4 separate regions of the Homo sapiens genome follow, and regions 2, 3 and 4 are each linked to region 1. The links are contacts of gene promoters, found by promoter capture Hi-C in blood cells and fetal thymus (Javierre and others, 2016). All regions are on one chromosome and are shown on one strand. The core of a region is centred on a gene start or on the middle of the fragment in contact, and the rest is flanking DNA. Distances in the headings are between cores, read along the strand shown. Region 1 holds the start of CENPC (centromere protein C). Region 2 overlaps DCK (deoxycytidine kinase). Region 3 overlaps GRSF1 (G-rich RNA sequence binding factor 1). Region 4 has its middle 9.2 kb from the start of UTP3.

What was found. The method cuts DNA at HindIII sites, captures the fragments that hold promoters and counts their contacts. A CHiCAGO score of 5 or more calls a contact.
Region 2: a contact is called between a fragment that was not itself captured here and the fragment with the promoter of CENPC in region 1, in 1 of 17 cell types (naive CD8 T cells). The highest score is 6.1, in naive CD8 T cells.
Region 3: a fragment that was not itself captured here is called in contact with the fragment with the promoter of CENPC in region 1 in 2 of 17 cell types (non-activated CD4 T cells and naive CD8 T cells); the score reaches 9.8 in non-activated CD4 T cells.
Region 4: a contact is called between a fragment that was not itself captured here and the fragment with the promoter of CENPC in region 1, in 1 of 17 cell types (non-activated CD4 T cells). The highest score is 5.1, in non-activated CD4 T cells.

What each region holds. Positions count from the first base shown.
Region 1 is chr4:67,544,077-67,546,847 of GRCh38, reverse strand. CENPC (centromere protein C) reads left to right here and starts at 1,345. Exons shown (of 19, transcript NM_001812.4): 1 at 1,345-1,510; 2 at 2,653-2,699. The coding sequence starts at 1,493. RefSeq lists a silencer at 1,061-1,200 and enhancers at 1,023-1,573, 1,351-1,590. The HindIII fragment of the contact is 5,245 bases long and covers 1-2,456 here.
Region 2 is chr4:70,999,035-71,001,805 of GRCh38, reverse strand. The region is part of intron 2 of DCK (deoxycytidine kinase); the gene reads right to left. Among named protein-coding and RNA genes, the nearest start is that of DCK, 6.8 kb to the right of the region's middle. The HindIII fragment of the contact is 5,573 bases long and covers 1-2,771 here.
Region 3 is chr4:70,834,518-70,837,288 of GRCh38, reverse strand. GRSF1 (G-rich RNA sequence binding factor 1) reads left to right here. Exons shown (of 10, transcript NM_002092.4): 2 at 975-1,131. Among named protein-coding and RNA genes, the nearest start is that of GRSF1, 4.0 kb to the left of the region's middle. The HindIII fragment of the contact is 4,947 bases long and covers 1-2,771 here.
Region 4 is chr4:70,696,338-70,699,108 of GRCh38, reverse strand. No RefSeq gene overlaps it. Among named protein-coding and RNA genes, the nearest start is that of UTP3, 9.2 kb to the right of the region's middle. The HindIII fragment of the contact is 296 bases long and covers 1,175-1,470 here.

The DNA of each region.
Region 1 (2,771 bases), core at 96-2,595:
CAATGCATGCAAAGCATTTCAGAACTGGGCATAGAGTATGCAGTCAATAAATGTTAGTGTTTATCATTATCTATTCCAAATGTGACAGCACCAAATTATAAGTTGGACTGATTGGCAAAACTGCCAAACATAGTAAAAAACTCTCCATAATGATTCCAATAGCTTTATTATTGAATTCTTACTATGTTCCAAACATTGTGCTTAGATCTTAACAGGAATTATTCAATTACAACATCTCAACCACTTTAATAGTATTCTCATTTTGCAGACAAGAGAATTAAGGAACAGATAACTTAGTTGCCCATAATGGCAGAATTAATGGAATGGAGTGCAATCCAGGCCTAATTTCAGTCAGAGATCATAGTTCCTTTTTTTCTATCAAAAAAATAAATAAAATAAAAAAATTGGCCTTCATAGTTGACAGCATTTGTTAAAGCACTACATGTTTTAAAAATCTATTAGCTCAACTCCTGATTAATGTATTTATTCAATTAGTAAACTATTTTCTGATTAGAATTTTCTTGTAATTTTAAATTAAATAATAAAATAAGATACAGCTTCATAGAATCATACACTGGTCAGGTGAGAAGTCTTCAGAGCGTCTAATTTAGACTTCCATTCTATCACTATGGAAACACCCAGAATGGTGCCGCAATTTTGCCCTCCATAACATAGCTAGTCAATGGCTGGCAGGTTTCAGGATTCTGTATAGAATTCTTTTCAGTGCATCATACTTAAATGATAGATATTTACGTGGGTCATTTGTTGGCAATGCATCATAAAAATATCGCCCACATACTTGAAAAAGAATACAAGCCATCATCACCATTATTATACATAATTATTCAATTATTTTCAGAGATGATGGTTAGATGGGCTGGGCGTGGCTGACGAATCTGCATTAGAAAAATCTCTTCAAAAAAAGATTCTATTAAAAAAAAAGTCGTCTGCAATTTCTACCTCTCATCCTTCCAAGTATTACTTATTATTCCTTAATAGAACTGTTGAGAAGTTTTACATTGGGCACAAGGAGCGGTTCCCAGGATCGTGCCTTCCTAATAAAAGCCCAGTCTCGCGCCTGTCCCGGGCGCGGCGCTGAGGAAGGGAGGTGGGAAGAGCAGAGCGGCTAGAGGTAGGGCGGGCGGGTGGGTCTGCAGGCTGGAGGGCCGTTGGCCTGGAGCATGAAGGGGCGAGCCCACTAACGGCTTGCTTCCTATTGGACGGCGCGGCCCGTTTTGCGCATGTGTCTCCGGGTTCAAACCCAGGCACAGGCCAAGCGTTCTTGTTTGTTGAGGGCGGAGCCAATGGCGGGGGAGTGTTGTTAGCGCGCGCCTTCCGGATCGCAGCTCTCGCGGCAGTCGCCTGAGACTTAAGGTTATTGCTTGGCCGCGGCCTGGTATTCCGGCGATTCGTTTCTTGCTCGGCTTCCTGGAGCTGTGGTCCGTGTGGGCTTCCACCTCAGACAGTTGCGCTGGCTCAGCGGGGCCGGAACATGGCTGCGTCCGGTCTGGTAAGTGCAGGCCCCCCGCTCCAGGCGAGTGGTTGAGCGGCTGGCTGGGGCACGGGCGCCCGAGGCTGGGGAGAAGGAAATGCTAGGCTGAGGCTGTGATCTCTGAGGGATTTCAGTGGGAAAGCCGCAGGAATTTTTGAAATCAAGTGTGATCGTGTGTCGATAACCAGAGTTAATTTACTGTACTTTTATTATTTCTTAAGTTTTCATGTCGTCATTTCGTCTGTGCCTACGTCTTACTCTTGAGAGGTGCTTGTGATTTCTGCTGGGTTTTTTTTTGTTTTTGTTTTTGAGACGGGGTCTTGCTCTGTCCCCCAGGCTGGAGTGCAGTGGCGCGATCTTGGCTTCTGCTTTTTAGTCTAGCTCCAGTTCCTAGGCCTCCAAATAACTTTTCTCCCCATGGTAGAAGTATTGAAACGCCTTAAAAGTGTGTCTTTGCGTCACACTTGGTAGTTGGGAGAAACAGATTATGTAACAAGTACGTCTCGAAATAATTTGACGTTTTCAGTTCTTCTGTCAAAATGGTGGCCTTTTATGCAGTTCTTGAGGCTGATTTATGGAGCATATGTTATTGACAAACTCTTCTGAAAGACAGCTATCAGTTAAAAGGTACAAGCTGTGAATGACTAATGGGGGCGACAACTCATTTTGTTTACATATTTCTGGACTTCTTTGGTGTTCACTATTCTATATTTCATACTTTGGTTATGGTTACTATATAAAAATCCGTATCATTTCTTTTCTAATTTATCTCCCCTTCTAAGAAAATCTTCAGCTTCGATGATCTCCCATTATGTGACGTTATACATATAAACATAAAGAGTTGTATGAAAGAATAATATAATCTATACTTTTTACTATGAGCACATATATTGTTTACATTATATATAATCAGAAGAAAGCAATAAAGCCATTCTCACTGTGGGGAGAGAAGCGGAATAAAGCTTACCAGATGCCTGCAGTTCAGTTTTTAAATGCCTGTCATAACCTATGTTATGTCATAACATAACCTCAAAATTGTTTTGAGCCCTTAGGAGATGTTTGGTGTATAGCATGCCCATACTGGATGAAGTTACTTTGAAAATAAATTTTACTCGACTCTATCTTAAAGAAACCAAATTGATGATTTACTTTTCTTTCAGGATCATCTCAAAAATGGCTACAGAAGAAGATTTTGTCGACCTTCCAGGTGATTTACGTACTTAAGCTTTTAAGATTATTTTTATTCTCATCGTTAATAGATTTTTAAATGAAGAAAGGA
Region 2 (2,771 bases), core at 128-2,627, 3.5 Mb before region 1:
CAAACTACCATCAGAGAACACTATAAACACCTCCACGCAAATAAACTAGAAAATCTGGAAGAAATGGATAAACTCCTGGACACATACGCCCTCCCAAGATTAAACCAGGAAGAACTCTGGTTTAATGAACAGACCAATAAAAAGTTCTGAAATTGAGGCAATAATATCCTACCAACCAAAAAAAAGCCCAGGACCAGATGGATTCACAGCTGAATTCTACCACAGGTAGAAAGAGGAACTGGTACTATTCCTTCTGAAACTTCCAAACAATAGAAAAAGAGGGACTCCTCCCTAACTCATTTTTTGAGGCCAGCATCACCCTAATACAAAAACCTGGCAGAGACACAACAAAAAAAAGAAAATGTCAGGCCAATATCCCTGATGAACATCGATGCGAAAATCCTCAATAAAATACTGGCAAACCGAATCCAGTAGCACATTAAAAAGCTCATCTACCACGATCAAGTCGGCTTCATCCCTGGGATGCAGGGCTGGTTCAACATACTCAAATCAATAAAACATAATCTATCACATAAACAGAACCAATGACAAAAACCGCATGATTATCTCAATAGATGCAAAAAAGGCCTTCAATAAAATTCAACATCCCTTCATGCTAAAAACTCTCAATAAACTAGGTATTGATGAAATGTATCTCAAAATAAGAGCTATTTATGACAAACCCACAGCCGATACCATTCCCTTCAAAAATCGGCACAGGATAAGGATGCCCTCTCTCACCTCTCCTATTCAACATAGTATTGGAAGGTCTGGCCAGGGCAATCAGGCAAGAGAAAGAAATAAAGGGGATTCAGATAGGAAGAGGGGAAGTCAAATTATCTCTGTTTGCAGATGATGACTGTATATTTAGAAAACCCCATCATCTCAGCCCATAATCCCTTATGGTGACAAGCAACTTCAGTAAAGTCTCAGGATACAAAATCAATGGGCAAAAATCACAAGCATTCCTATACACCACTAACAGACAGAGAACCAAATCATGAGTGAATTCCCATTCACAATTGCTACAAAGAGAATAAAATACCTAGGAATACAACTTACAACGGATGTGAAGGACCTCTTCAAGGAGAACTACAAACCACTGCTCAAGGAAAGAAGAGAGGACACAAACAAATGGTAAAACATTCCATGCTCATAGATAGGAAAAATCAATATTGTGAAAATGGCCATACTGCCCAAAGTAATTTACAGATTCAATGCTATTCCCATCAAGCTACCATTGACTTTCTTCACAGAATTAGAAAAAACTACCTTAAATTTCATATGGAACCAAAAAAGAGCCCGTATAGCCAAGACAATCCTAAGCAAAAAGAACAAGGCTTGAGGCCTCATGCTACCTGACTTCAAACTATACTACAAGGCTACAGTAACCAAAACGGCATGGTATTGTACCAAAACAGAGCTATAGACCAATGGAACAGAACAGAGCCCTCAGAAATAATACCACACGTCTACAACCATCTGATCTTTGACAAACCTGACAAAAACAAGCAATGGGGAAAGGATTCCCTATTTAATAAATGGTGCTGGGAAAACTGGCTAGCCATATGCAGAAAACGGAAACTGGACCCCTTCCTTACACCTTATACAAAAATTAATTCAAGATGGATTAAAGATTTAAACATAAGACCTAAAATCATAAAAACTCTGAAGAAAACATAGGCAATACCATTCAGGACATAGGCATGAGCAAAGACTTCATGACTAAAACACCAAAAGCAGTGTTAACAAAAGCCAAAACTGACAAATGGGATCTAATTAAACTAAGGAGCTTCTGCACAGTAAAAGAAACTATCATCCAAGTAAACAGGCAACCTACAAAATGGGAGAAAATTTTTGCAATCTACCCATCAGACAAAGGGCTAATATCCAAAATCTACAAGGAACTTAAACAAATTTACAAGAAAAAAAAACAAACAACCCAATCAGAAAGTGGGCAAATGATATGAACAGACACTTTTCAAAAGAAGACATTTATGCAGCCAACAAACATGAAAAAAAGCTCATCATCACCAGTCATTAGAGAAATGCAAACCAAACCCACAATGAGATACCATCTCACACCAGTTAGAATGGTGATCATTAAAAAGTCAGGAAACAACAGATGCTGGAGAGGATGTGGAGAAATAGGAATGCTTTTACACTGTTAGTGGGAGTGTAAATTAGTTCAACCACTGTGGAAGATAGTGTGGCGATTCCTCAAGGATCTAGAACCAGAAATACCATTTGACCCAGCCATCCCATTACTGGGTATATACCCAAAGGATTATAAATTATTCTACCATAAAGACACATGCATATGTATGTTTACTCCAGCGCTATTCACAATAGCAAAGACTTGGAACCAACCCAAATGCCCATCAATGATAGACTGGATAAACAAAATGTGGCACATATACACCAAAGAATACTATGCAGCCATAATAAAAGAATGAGTTCATAACCTTTGCAGGGACATGGATGAAGCTGGAAACCATCAATCTCAGCAAGCTAACACAGGAACAGGAAACCAAACACCGCATGTTCTAACTTGTAAGTGGGAGTTGAACAATGAGAACACATGGGCACAGGGAGGGGAACATCACACACCAGGGCCTGTCGGTGGGGTAGGAGGCAAGGGAAGGGTTAGCATTAGGAGAAATACCTAATGTAGATGACGGGTTGACGGGTGCAGCAAACCACCATGGCATGTGTATATCTACATAACAAACCTGCACGTTCTGCACATGTATCCCAGAACTTAAAGGATA
Region 3 (2,771 bases), core at 81-2,580, 3.3 Mb before region 1:
CTGGCCCAGTAGAGTGCAAGTCTTAAAGCCTGAGTTGTCTTCTTAGGTTATGGTTGTAGTGCTTCGTGGATTCTTACTAAATTCCAGTTTTACTTAATCCGATAAAAGAGACTTTACAAGTCTGTAGCCTCACACTGCTGCCGTTGTCTTTAAGATCTTTCCCTTAATCACTTGGTCTGGCATACCAGCTGACAGAGGAATATTCCCAAGGCGTCCTGCTGTCTTGTTGATTTACCCAGTCCTCAGTGTCTTGTATTAACTTATCTTTGCCTACCAAGTGAAGGACACACATTGAGCTCCACACTCAAGGCCCTCTGCTCTATGGTACCAACCTCTTTTGCCAGGTCACCTTCTTTGGCTCCTAATTTAAACAGTTGGAATTAATTGCTGTTATTCAAATGGGCATTTGGTCGTACTGCTTCTTTCTCTCGCCTTCAAACTGGAATACCCTATCTTTTATATCCTCATAAAAATTCTATCCTTCCTTCAAGGCCCATCTCATGTCACATCCTGATTCATCTGTTAGTGCTCTGATTTGAATTCCTGTAGTATTTTGTATCTTAATTATAGCACTCAGTATCTCATCTTGTATGCTTATCGTATTCTAGATAGCTATTTCAGATGAGGGCGGCAAACACTGTGTGTAGGGGCAATCAAATATTTGTCAAATTGTCAGGACCTTTCTTGTGTTGCCTTAACTACACTATTGTTAGCTATAATTTGGGGTTGATGAATTTTAAAACAAACCCTGAATGAAATTTGTGTCCTGCCAAACCTTTAGGATATACCTGCTTATGGCTTTTGGATGTACAATTTAAGCCAAAACAGGATGGGTTACATTGGTGAAGTTTACTTTTTGCTTCTGAAATAACATCTAGAATGTTAGTTTGTAGAATAAACATTTTCTAAGAATTTTTTTACATTTTTTACCTGTAAATGCAACTCTTTTTACAATTCTTCATTTCCTTTGGAAGGAGTCCAAAACTACTTACCTGGAAGACCTTCCACCACCCCCTGAGTATGAATTGGCCCCGTCCAAGTTAGAAGAGGAAGTGGATGATGTCTTTCTCATTCGAGCTCAAGGACTGCCCTGGTCATGCACTATGGAAGATGTGCTTAACTTTTTTTCAGGTATATTTTATGTATGTTTTATTTATTTATTTTTTTTCCTTATATTGTTTCTCACAAGCAGGTATGTATGTTTTAAGTATGTAATTTTGTCTGAGTAAAAGGTAGTGCTACAAATCCATGTCAGACTACGCTGTCACCTTCCTTTTTGATGGTTGGGAACTGTCTCATTCTGGTTGGTTGCATATACCAAATGATACCATGTGTGCTGTTTGCGGTATGTAACGAATTGAAAGACTTTGGGCCAGGGGCAGTGGCTCAGGCCTGTAATCAGCAGTTTGGGAGGCCAAGGTGGAAGGATGGCTTGAGGCCAGTAGTTCCATACCACACTGGGCAACACTGTGAGACTGTCTCAATTTACATATGTATAAAGACTTTGAATGCAACAAAAGTATTTTAACGTTAAGACTGCATAGTATGGGCCAGGCGCAGTGGCTCACGCCTGTAATCCCAGCACTTTGGGAGGCCGAGGCGGGCGGATCACAAGCTCAGGAGATCGAGACCATCCTGGCTAACATAGTGAAACCCCGTCTCTACTAAAAATACAAAAATTACCCAGGCTTGTAGTCCCAGCTACTTGGGAGGCTGAGGCAGGAGAATGGTGTGAATCCGGGAGGTGGAGCTTGCAGTGAGCCGAGATGGTGCCACTGCATTCCAGCCTGGGCGACAGAGTGAGACTCTGTCTCAAAAAAAAAAAAAAATCCATCATACTATGTAGGTTTTTTTTTTTTTGAGACGGAGTCTCGCTCTGTCGCCAGGCTGGAGTGCAGTGGCATGATCTCAGCTCACTGCAAGCTCCGCCTCCCGGGTTCACACCATTCTCCTGCCTCAGCCTCCCTAGTAGCGACTGCCACCACACCCAGTTAATTTTTTGTATTTTTAGTAGAGCTGGGGTTTCACCGTGTTAGCCAGGATGATCTCAATCTCCTGACCTTGTGATCTGCCTGCCTCGGCTTCCCACAGTGCTGGGATTACAGGCGTGAGCCACCGTGCCCGGCTGGTATGATGGAATACTACGTAGCCATAACAAAGAGTGAGATTATGTGCTTTGCAGCAATGTGGGTGGTGCTGGAGACCATTATCCTAAGCAAACTAACATGGAACATTAAACTTAATACTGTATGTTTTCACTTACAAGTGGGAGCTAAACAATGAGAACACATGGACACAAAGAGGGGAACAAGAAGACACCAGGGCCAACTTGAGGGTTGGGGAGAAGATTAAAAAATACCTATCGGGTCCAAGTGCGGTGGCTCACGCCTGTAATCCCAGCACTTTGGGAGGCCGAGGCGGGCGGATCACGAGGTCAGGAGATCGAGACCATCCTGGCTAACATGTTGAAACCCCATCTCTCCTAAAAATACAAAAAAAATTAGCCGGGCGTGGTGGCACGCTCCCGTAGTCCCAGCTACCTGGGAGGCTGAGGCAGGAGAATCGCTTGAATCTGGGAGGCGGAGGTTGCAGTGAGCTGAGTTCACACCACTGTACTCCAGCCGTGGTGACAGAGAGAGACTCTGTCTCAAAAAGAAAAATAAAACCTATTGGGTACTGTGCTTGCTACCTGGGTAACTAAATTATCTGTATACCGAACTCCCATAACACATGGTTTACCTATGTAGCAGTCCTATACATGTACTAAATAA
Region 4 (2,771 bases), core at 73-2,572, 3.2 Mb before region 1:
TATTATTTTAGAGATGGAGGGTTTCACTATGTTGCCCAGGCTGCAGTTGAACTCCTGGCTTCAAGCAATCCTCCCACCTCAGCCTCCAGAGTTAGTCCAGATATTCAAAAACAATATTCAAGAACAATATTCAAATAACCTAAACATTGATGGAAACCCTACTCAAGTTCCTACTACATACAATTTCCTTTGCCAAAAGTTGAGATGATCCTTACTATCAGATTTCTAATTAAAATAATGTCCTTGGACATAAATGGAAATATTTAGTTTATAATAATGTCATACTTAAAGGTCAATTATTTCTAGTATTATGAATCAGAGAACTGAAGAAAGAAGACTTCTCCTAGTTCTATATCACTGACAATACATTGCTTCACAGGTCTAAAGAGACTCCAGAGACAATTCAGCCTCCAGTGTAGCTGAGATTACAGGTGTGAGCCAGCAGGCCCAGCTAGTGTTTATCTTAATAATGTTGCTGGCCGGGCGCGGTGACTCAGGCCTGTAATCCCAGCACTTTGGGAGGCCGAGGTGGGCAGTTCACAAGGTCAGGAGTTTGAGACGAGCCTGGCCAACATGGTGAAACCCTGTCTCTACTAAAAATACAAAAAAAAAAATTAGCCGCGCATGGTGGTGTGTGCCTGTAGTTCCAGATACTCGGGAGGCTGAGGCAGGAGAATCACTTGAACCCGGGAGGCGAAGGTTGCAGTGAGCCAAGATCGCGCCACTGCACTCCAGCCTGGGTGACAGAGAGAGACTTCATCTCAAAATAATAATAATGATAATAATGATGTTGCTGAAGATTTCTATGAATGTATCCAGTAATTCTCATGCTCTCTCTTTCTGGTTCTTCTTCTCCTTCTTTTTTTTTTTTTGAGACAGAGCTTTGCTCTTGTTGCCCAGGCTGGAGTGCAGTAGTGTGATCTCGGCTCACTGCAACCTCCACCTTCTGGGTTAAAGCAATTCTCCTGCCTCAGCCTCCAGAGTAGCTGGGATTACAGGCGTGCACCACCATGTCCGGCTAATTTTTGTATTTTTAATGGAGATGGGGTTTCATCATACGGGTCAGGCTGGTCTTGAACTCCTGACCTCAAATGATCCACCTGCCATGGCCTCCCAAAGTGCTGGGATTACAGGCGTGAGTTACTGTGCCCGGCCTGTCCTCTGCGTTAAAGCTTCATCTTTTCTTGCCAGTTATTATTGCAAAGGACTCCTCATTGGTTTCCCTGCCTCTGGTTTTAATCTATTCCAGTTGCCCTGCTCTACAGCAGCTAGAATGAGTAATTTACTTTTCTGAACGTTCACCTAATTATGCCACAACATTTCTTAAAAACCTGGGTTCACTTCTTTATGTGTGGGATACAATCTAAATGCATTAACTACCTAGTAAGGTCTTTCATGATCTAACCCCTTCCTATCTTTCCAATATTATCCTCCTATCTTGTCTTACCCCTTGTTGCCTTTGACTAAGCTTTAACATGTTTGCCATTACTCATATTGCGGTACCCGTTCTTCCTCTCCCAAACTCTACTCAAACAAAGCTGTGATACTTTTTCTGCTCTCCCCATGTAGAAAGGTACATGCCATTTTTGAGGTCTCATAGTACCCTATTTAAGCAGTTAATTGTTTTAATTGTAATGAATTTATGCCTCTTCCCAAATTTAGCATCGTTTTTTCCTCTTTTTACAATGCATAAAAGATTTATTTTTTGTACTATTTGTTCCTTGTACTATTCCTAAGTAGTTATCAGTCCCTCTCACTTATTTTTTATTTTTTTGAGACATGGCCTCACTGTCACCCAGGTAGTGGCACAATCATGGCTCACTGCAGCCTTGACCTCCCAGGCTCAAGTGATCCTCCCACCTCAGCCTCACCACTAGCTGGGACCACAGGCGCACACCACCATGCCCAGCTAATTTTTGTATTTTTAGTAGAGATGGAGTTTCACCCTGTTGCCCAAGCTGGTCTCGAACTCATGTGCTCAAGTGATTTGCCCACCTTGGCCTCCTAAAATTCTGAGTTTACAGGCGTGAGCTACTACGCCCAGCCTCACTTATTTTTAAGACCCTTTCCTCTTAAGATCACATCAAAATTCTTTTTTTCTATCTGTGACCATCAGGTATCCGAATAAAAGCAATTCAAAAAAACTGGACTGAATAAGAAGCTTAAGGAATAACTTATTTAGCTTACATTTATATTTCCCTTTTTATGTATGTTCAAGTGTGGTGTGAATAGAAATATAAGTATGTCTAAAAGAGGTCATTTAATAAATGTGAAAAAATTTTAGGTGCTAATTAAATTCTGCCATCTACTTAATTTGAATAATCCTCACCCCACCATGGCAAAATTGTCTATTATATGTATTAAAACAGGCCATATAAAACAATGCACAAGGGTAAAAGGTACAGCCCTTCTAGCATTAAGTTTTCTTATTTTTTCAGATGGAGTCTCACTCTGTCGCCAGGCTGGAGTGCAGTGGCACGATCTCGGCTCACTGCAACCTCTGCCTCCCGGGTTCAAGTGATTCTCCTGCCTCAACCTCCTGAGTAGCTGAGATTACAGGAGTGCACCACCACGCCCAGCTAATTTCTGTATTTTTAGTAGAGGTGGGGTTTCACCATGTTGGCCAGGATGGTCTTGATCTCCTGATTTCGTGATCTGCCCTCCTCGGCCTCCCAAAGTGCTGGGATTACAGGCGTGAGCCACCACACCCAGGCTAGCATAAAGTTTTGTAACTGAGGTCTATGGACTCCTGGCTTCAGGGAGTCCAGGAA